2 separate regions of the Homo sapiens genome follow, and region 2 is linked to region 1. Evidence: promoter capture Hi-C in human tissues and cell types (Jung and others, 2019). All regions are on one chromosome and are shown on one strand. Each heading gives the region's core, a stretch centred on a gene start or on the middle of the fragment in contact. The rest is flanking DNA. Distances are from core to core; before and after follow the strand shown.

Region 1 (4,316 bases), core at 596-3,095:
TCTTAAAACAGGTACTGAGTATAAAACAATATAAAACAATATGAGAGGGTCTCTCTCTTCCCTCAATGGCAAGTATGCTTTTGAGTAATGAACTTCTGTACCATACCAATTACCCAGGGGAGTGGTAGATCTTAAAGACAAAGATTAATTGATTGATTTTGTTTTCTTCTCAAATTCCTTTTACCAAAAGACAGAGATAATAAAACAATATTTATATTTGAGAGGTGGTGATGGTTGTGGTCAAAACGACCAGCTGAAAGTCATAATGTCCAAGCAAGATGAGGGAAAGCTCTGGGGGCAGGCAGTAATAACCATAACAGCAAACACATACTATGAACCAGGCACTACTTATCAACAGTTTATCAACCCATTAAAAGCTTATTGCAGCCGGGCGTGGTGGCTCATGCCTGTAATCCCAGCACTTTGGGAGGCTTAGGTGGGCAGTCACCTGAGGTCAGGAGTTCGAGACCAGCTTGGCCAACATGGTGAATTAGTGAGGCATGGTGATGTGCCCCTGTAATCTCAGCTACGCGGGAGGCTGAGGCGGGAGAATCACTTGAACCCAGGAAGCGGAGTTTGGTTGCAATGAGCCGAGATCGCGCCATTGTGCTCCAGCTTGGGCGACAGAGTGACACTGTCTCAAAAAAAACAAAAAACAGTCTGGGAGAGGTGGCTAACGCCTGTCATCCCAGCACTTTGGGAGGCCGATGTGGGCGGATCATCTGAAATAGGGAATTCGAGACCAGCCTGACCAACATGGAAAAACCCTGTCTCTACAAGAAACACAAAATTAGCCAGGAGTGGTGGCACATGCCTGTAATCCCAGCTACTCGGGAGGCTGAGGCAGGAGAATCGCTTGAACCCGGGAGGCAGAGGTTGCGGTGAGCTGAGATCGTGCCATTGCACTCCGGCCTGGGCAACAAGAGCGAAACTCCATCTCAAAAACAAATAGAAACAAAAACACAACAAAAACCTTATTACAATCCTGTGAACTAGCTACTGTCATTACTATAATGTAGATGAACAAACTGGGACATGGACAGTTGACAAAACATTCCCAACCACACACTAGGAATGAGCTGGGATAGGAAACCAGGCACTCTGGCTCTATTACTCCTAATGCCATACACACGAGCTGACTTAGGAGAAAACAGAAAGTACTGTTCGCACAATACTAACTGGTTCTACCGCCACTGTTCGCTTGCATTTGTTTTTTCCTTCTTGTTAGGAACACGTATCTTTGAAGGAGGTATCATTTCTCCCACAATTCTCCATTTAACGTTTCCTACAGTGTTAAGCACCACCGAGGCCTCTCATAGCCCCAGAGAAGAAGTAATTTGCTTCCTAGAAATCCTCACTGTATCCAGATTCCCTCCCAGAGGAGCCATCAGTTCTCATGGGTGGCACTTTTTCTCCAGCTGATTACACTTTTTTTCTGTACCAGTTAATTTTTCCAACTTCTAATTGAATAAAGGCAGTTTTCTTAAAAAAAAAAAAAAGAGAAAGAAAAACGGAAAGGAAGGAAGAGGAAAGGAAGGAAGAAATGAAGAAAGGAAGGAAGGAAAGAAAGGAGAGGGACAGAAAGAAAAAAAGGAAAGAGAGAAAGAAAGGAAAGGAAAGTAAGAAATGGAAGGGACCTGCAGAAACGATTCACCACGCGCGGCTGACCCTGGGAGGAGCCACAGGTTGAACCAGCGCCTCCCAGGCTGGACGCCCGCCGCGGACACCGCAGACAGTCCCACCCCCAGCGGCGACAGCAACTCTCTGAATTCCGGAAAGAACCTTTTCCAGCGGGACCGGAAGCCCGGCGGGGACCGTAGCGGGGACGGACTGACCTACCGACCATTCTTCCGGGTCCAGAAGGTGATCTCCGCCCGTGCTCAGAATCCAGGGGCCCGGGGCTGTAGGTAGGAGTTAAGTGGGTAGGATCCCTTAACCAGGGTTGTCCGGTGCAGGTGGTGTGTGTTGTTTCGCCTAACGTGTCAGTGGCACAAATCACGCGAACTTCATAAACATTGTGCGTTCGGAAGCCTTTCCAAGATGCATTTAATCCCTGCGTGAGCCCACGTTAGGCATTCACGAAGGCATGTGCACTGTTCTCTCGGAAGCGGCTGGCCGGCTTCCCCTCCTCGCGCGCGGCTGTGGGTGCAGGTCCTCACTTCCCAGCCTCCCATGGGCCCAAGGCCTTCTGGGCTCCAATTTGAGGCGAGCCACCCCAGATCCGTAATTTTTCTGCAGTGATTTATTTTTACCTTTCTGGTAAGTTCCAAAGCTTCCAGCTCACATTCAGACGTTTTCCCTAACGCAACTACGTATTTGCAACATACTTTTTTCAGATTCCTTGACAAGGATATCCTAGCGGCGAAACAACACCGTACTGGGAGTCAGAACGTCTGGGTTCTAGTCTTGACTGCCATTAACTAGCGGTATGACATTGGAGAAGCTTTTTTGACCCTTCTGGATTTCCGTTTCCTTTTCTGTAAAATGAGGAGCTTGGAGTAAGTGACAAGTTTCCTTCCAGTTTTGACATTTGGGTTATTGCCTCCAATGTGTCTTTCCAGTTCCTGCCTCAATTACATATCTGTGCTTTGGTTAATATCTCGTAGGGTCCTTCCTCCCACTCCATTAATCTGTGCTCTTCTCAAATCTGGTTTCATACTGATTTAAAAATTATTTTCTCAAGGAATCCTGTGTTACCTGAGCACTCTACTTCTTGGTCCAGGGGCACAAACGTAAATAAGATATTTTCCATGTGCCATTCTTAGAAGTATTTAATGTGTGTAAATACTATTGAATGAATTTCCAAATCTTCTTTTTTTTTTCTTTAGACAGAGTCTCACTGTCGCCCAGGCTGGAGTGCAGTGGCCTGATCTCGGCTCACTGCAGTCTCTGCCTCCTGGGTTCAAGCGATTCTCCTGCCTCAGCCTCCCAAGTCGCTGGGATTACAGGCGCCCGCCACCGTACCCGGCTAATTTTTGTACTTTTAGTAGAGAGGGGGTTTCACCATGTTGGCCAGGCTGGTCTCGAACTCCTGACCTCAGGTGATCCGCCCGCCTCGACCTCCCAAAGTGCTAGGATTACAGGCATGAGCCATCACGCCCAGCCTGAATTTCTAAATCTTAATGTGTTTATTTCGTTGGCATTAAGTTAGATTTTTCCTTGATCTTTACTCGAATAAGCCTTTTAAGGTAAAATGCTTGCTCGATTACACACACATACACAACCTCATAATTGTCCGAAGGTAAACAAGTTAATGACTTGTGAATATTTTTAACTTATAAGCAATGAATCCTCAAAGCTTATAAGCGAGTATCAAGACATGTGATATGGTTTTAAAATAGCTGATGATAAAGTATATACATCATCTCATTTTCTCCTCTTAGTCTTGTAATAGGAAGGACAGATATTCAAACACTTATTTATTTATTTATTTTTAACAGAGATCCGGAAAATGAGGCCCATAGGAAACAAGTGACTTGCTGAGTCCAGATAACACTGACTGTCAGAGTGAGTGTCCACCTAAGGTTCCTTTGTTGCCTAATAAGATACTTTCTTTGCTATACTGTACTTGTTTCTGTTATCATTTCTTTTCTTTCTTTTAAAAAATATTCAGTATAGGCCAGGCGCGGTGGCTCACGCCTGTAATCCCAGCACTTTGGGAGGCCAAGGCGGATAGATCACCTGAGGTCAGGAGTTCAAGACCAGCCTGGCCAACACGGTGAAACCCCGTCTCTACTAAAAATACAAAATAATTAGCCGGGTGTGCTGGCAGGCACCTGTAATCCCAGCGACTTGGGAGGCTGAGGCAGGAGAATCCCCTGAACCCAGCAGGTGGAGGTTGTAGTGAGCCAAGATCACGCCATTGCACTCCAGCCTGAGCGATGAGCAAAACTCCATCTCAAAAAAAAAAATTCAGTATATTCTATTTACCATGTCAGAACCATACATTTACTATGTCAGAACCATAAAATACACTTTGGGAAGATTGGTTGAAATGTAACATTTAGGCTAGGCGTGGTGGCTCACGCCTGTAATCCCAGCACTTTGGGAGGCTGAGACAGGTGGATCACCTGAGGTCAGGAGTTTGAGACTAGCCTGGCCAACATGGTAAAACCCGGTGTCTACTAAAAATACAAAAATTAGCCTGACACGGTGGCACACACCTGTAGTTCAAGCTACTTGGGAGGCTAAGGCTGGAGAAAATTGCTTGAACCCAGGAGGCAGAGGTTGCAGTGGGCTGAGATCACACCACTGAACTCCACCCTGGGCAACAGAGCGAGACTCCATCTGAAAAAAAAAAAAAAAAAAAAAAGAAT
Region 2 (4,316 bases), core at 636-3,135, 49 kb before region 1:
TGTGAAAAATGGTTCACCTCTTTGTGCTGAGATGGTATATAAATACATCAGTACTATCAGTATTCCTTTTTATTTTTTCTAGTACACATTTTTTCATCCTTTCTATTTGAACAAATGAACAAAAGAGAAGTATAAAATCATAACGCATCTTAAAGCATTTGTTTCCTCAGCTTCAATTTTATGGTATAATATGTGGGTCAAATCCTGACCTGCCTTTTACACAGTGACATGCAGTGTATATAACATAAAGCCAATAAAATTAATGTTATATTTACATATAGATATGATAAGAGTGATCTATTGTGATTCAGTTGTTAACTTTTTATGCATACTGCAGGGTAGACCAATTATGACCTTTTGTACATTAAAGTTTTATTTCTGTTTTCTGGAGGGTTCTTTGTTTATACTTTGCTGTTGTTGATTTTTTATGAAGTTTAATTTAGAAATAATCCTGAAAATATTAATGACAAGTATTTTAAAATATAATAATCATTGATTCACATAGTAATTCATTTGTTTAGCTATAAAATTGAAATATGGCCTTATGTACTGGAAAAACTGAAAATTTTATGTTTTGTTTGGAAATGCTCCAGGAGTCTTATAGTTGAAATAGAATTTTAATTAGTATTTTATATTGTGGGAAAAATAAGAAAATATCTGCGTTAGGTCTGTTGTGGATTGCAAAATGGAAACAAAAAATGGTTAAGATTGTTCCTGTAAACCTGCTTCCCTTTGAAATATTTGTGTTTGGAATATACTTAGTTTTGCACTATCTCTGGGACCACTACTCACTTAGGTATATATTTGCCTTTGGGTAAATTAGAAAAGTTAGACCTCCATGGTTGGACACAGCCCCATTTATTCTGGGCATTCTGGGAACCTTCAAGCAGTATTAAAACCATACAACTGACAATTCCTTTCTAGTTTTTGTGTTAATAAATATATTTAGAATGGGATATTTTATTTTTAGGATATTATAATGCAGACAAGACACAGGCACAATATTAAAGTTTTAATATCATTGCCTTCTTTCTGATAAATGTCTGTTTACAATTTGGGATGGGGGAAATGTTTTGGTTTTTTTTCTCTTTTAAGATTGTTGGGGCTTTTATGGATTATAATGCTAATAAATACTCATTGTATAAAATTCAGTATACTATAGAAACATATTTGATGTTGCCATTATTGTTAATATGTTTGGTTTTGGTTTTTGTTTTTCAAGAATGCTACACTGCAAGCAGAGAAGCAAGCGTTGAAAACTCAACTGAAGCAACTTGAGACACAGAACAATAATTTGCAGGCTCAGATTCTTGCACTTCAGAGGCAGACAGTGTCATTACAAGAACAGAATACCACTCTTCAAACACAGAATGCCAAGCTTCAGGTTGTAATATAATATTTTGGGAATATGCAACCAAACTCTTGAATTATGCTATTAAAATAAGGGAGGGTAAACATGGAAACATTGTTTCTTAGTGAATGAACTTAAAGATAAATGAAAATATTTTTATTTAGTGCCATGCCAAATTTTCACACATCAGTTTTTAATTTTAAATATTAATAAATTCAGTCAATACATCTGAATAAAGATAAATTATATTTATGGTCTTTCTACCATTTCATTAAGTCGATTGTAAAAAATTAGGTAGAAACCCTTGCTTTAGAGTATGCTTGCAGCATACTATTCCTTATTTCATTTGTATAGCTTTTTTTTGTCAGTTTAGTTACTGAAAAGCAGGACAACATGAGAATTTTGTCTTTAGACCTCTCCTAAGTTCAAAGGATCCATCTTTCACTTAACACCGCCAGTGTCTTTTAAAACAGAACAATCAGGTGGGGAAAAGTTCAACTCTGAAAGCTCTTAAAGAGCAGAAACAAGTTCCCTCTCCGAATCAAAGAATTCTTCTTTCTGTAACCCTTTTCTTTGACACTGATTTTGATTAACATCAACACTTTGATAAAGAAAATACTTATTTAATTTGGACTCTTGAAAAATTTCTAAAAGTAATTTTTCACTTCTATCAACTTCTATCACCAAATTCTAGAAATGATAAACTAGTACTTCAAATTCTATACATTTTCATTTGTAATATAATACAAATGGTTGCTAATCACCTTCATTTAAAATAAATTCAACCCAAAACATACAATACATATATATGTCTATATATACACACATACATATGTATATATACACTTCCAAAAGTCAAAATTAAATGATAGCCTTATTCTTTGGGAAGCTAAAATCCACGTCTTCCCAGTATAATGTAAATATGTGTGCTGTGATTCATTTAGAGCTTTCTTTAATTAACATTGTAATCTTGTATTTTGAAAAAGAACATGAACTGTTTTTCTTATGTCTGATAACAATATATATTCTTATAGGTTGAAAATTCCACCCTTAATTCCCAAAGTACCTCACTCATGAACCAGAATGCCCAACTCCTAATCCAGCAGTCTTCCTTAGAAAATGAAAATGAATCTGTAATCAAAGAGCGAGAAGACCTAAAATCTCTCTATGATTCTCTGATCAAAGATCATGAAAAGCTGGAACTTCTTCATGAACGTCAGGCTTCAGAGTATGAATCTCTTATCTCTAAACATGGAACTCTGAAGTCTGCCCACAAAAATCTTGAGGTGGAACATAGAGACCTTGAAGACCGGTAATTTATTATATTTTGTTGTACTGTGAATTTAAAATGAATTTTCTTCAAGTAGTATAATAAATTTTATATATTAAACACATCTAATGTTAGTTTACATAAGAAATTTATATAAATTTACATGTGTTTTAAATGATACTCATTACTCATTTCCTTCATTTCTAAAATTTCTTTTTTGTAAATATTATAAACCAAATGCCTTTTTTCCCCCCAGTTACAATCAGTTATTAAAACAGAAAGGACAGTTGGAAGATTTGGAAAAAATGCTCAAAGTAGAACAGGAAAAAATGCTGCTTGAAAATAAAAATCATGAAACAGTAGCTGCAGAATACAAGAAACTTTGTGGTGAAAATGATAGGTAATAAATATATATTATATATAACAAACATTTTATATAGAAAGTATATACATATATATGTGTATATATATGTTTTTTCAAAATTATGTATTATTTCTTACATCCAAACTATATACTGCCCCTTTGTAGTACCAAGCATAGTTTGAATTCGGAATTTTAAAAAATAGAATAGGCTGGGTGCAGTGGCTCACACCTGTAATTCCAGCACTTTGGGAGGCCGAGGCAGGTAGATCACCTGAGTCAGGAGTTTGAGACCAGCCTGACCAACATGGTGAAACCTCGTCTCTACTAAAAATACAAAAATTAGCCAGGCTTGGTGGCGTGCACCTGTAGTCCCAGCTACTTGGGTGGGTGAGACAGGAGAATTGCTTAAACCTGAGAGGCAAAGGTTGCAGTGAGTCGAGATCGCGCCACTGCACTCCAGTCTGGGCAACAGAGTAAGACTCCATCTCCAAAAAAAAAAGAGAGAGAGAGATAGGATCTTACTCTTTTGCCCAAGCTGAAGTTCAGTAGCATGATCATAGCTTACTGCAACCTCAAACTACTATGCTTAAGCAATCCTTCCACCTTAGCCCCTCAGGTAGCTGGAACTGCTGGCACACACCACCATGCCTAGCTAATTTTTAATTTTTTTATTTTAATATTTAGTTTTTGTAGAAATAGGGTCTCCTGTGATCCCCACGGTTGCTCACAAACTCCTGGCCTCAAGTGATCCTCCTGCTTCTACCTCCCAAAATGCTGGGATTACAGACATGGACCATCAATAACCAGCCAATACTTTCTTATTAATACTTGAAACTTTGAGTACCTATACTTCAACATATTTAAAGACTAAAAAATTCTTTTCCCAGTGTGGAGATGGGTGGATGAAAAAAGGAAATTAAAAATTATTTTCAAGGGAAAGGTACTCAGAATTTTAAAAAATCTAGTTTTTACAGAATAGAAACTGATTTTTGATAAGTTTAGTAACTTGTAAAACAGTCTTTTATTCTAAGTATGCCTTAATGTTATTTATATCATTTCATATTGTATAAATTACACCAAAAGCTATTAAGATAATCTAATTATATTTCTATGATTTCTAATTATAGGCTGAATCATACCTATAGTCAACTTTTAAAAGAGACTGAAGTTTTACAAACTGACCATAAAAATTTGAAAAGTCTTCTGAATAATTCCAAACTGGAACAAACAAGATTAGAAGCTGAATTTTCAAAACTAAAGGAACAATACCAACAATTGGATATTACATCAACCAAGCTGAATAACCAGTGTGAGGTGAGCTTAAAAAGTTT

What was found. Contacts are between HindIII fragments. The study calls those that stand out against the background at their distance.
Region 2: a fragment that was not itself captured here is called in contact with the fragment with the promoter of MTIF2 in region 1 in 1 of the 25 tissues and cell types used here (bladder).

Annotation. Positions count from the first base shown.
Region 1 is chr2:55,266,760-55,271,075 of GRCh38, reverse strand. It overlaps MTIF2 (mitochondrial translational initiation factor 2), which reads left to right and starts at 1,845. Exons shown (of 16, transcript NM_002453.3): 1 at 1,845-1,907; 2 at 2,337-2,498; 3 at 3,441-3,507. RefSeq lists enhancers at 984-1,807, 1,753-1,902. The HindIII fragment of the contact is 5,929 bases long and covers 1-2,871 here.
Region 2 is chr2:55,315,911-55,320,226 of GRCh38, reverse strand. It overlaps CCDC88A (coiled-coil domain containing 88A), which reads left to right. Exons shown (of 33, transcript NM_001365480.1): 19 at 1,223-1,384; 20 at 2,386-2,663; 21 at 2,878-3,021; 22 at 4,113-4,299. The region is part of intron 2 of LOC124907768 (a long non-coding RNA gene); the gene reads right to left. Among named protein-coding and RNA genes, the nearest start is that of MTIF2, 49 kb to the right of the region's middle. The HindIII fragment of the contact is 6,665 bases long and covers 1-4,316 here.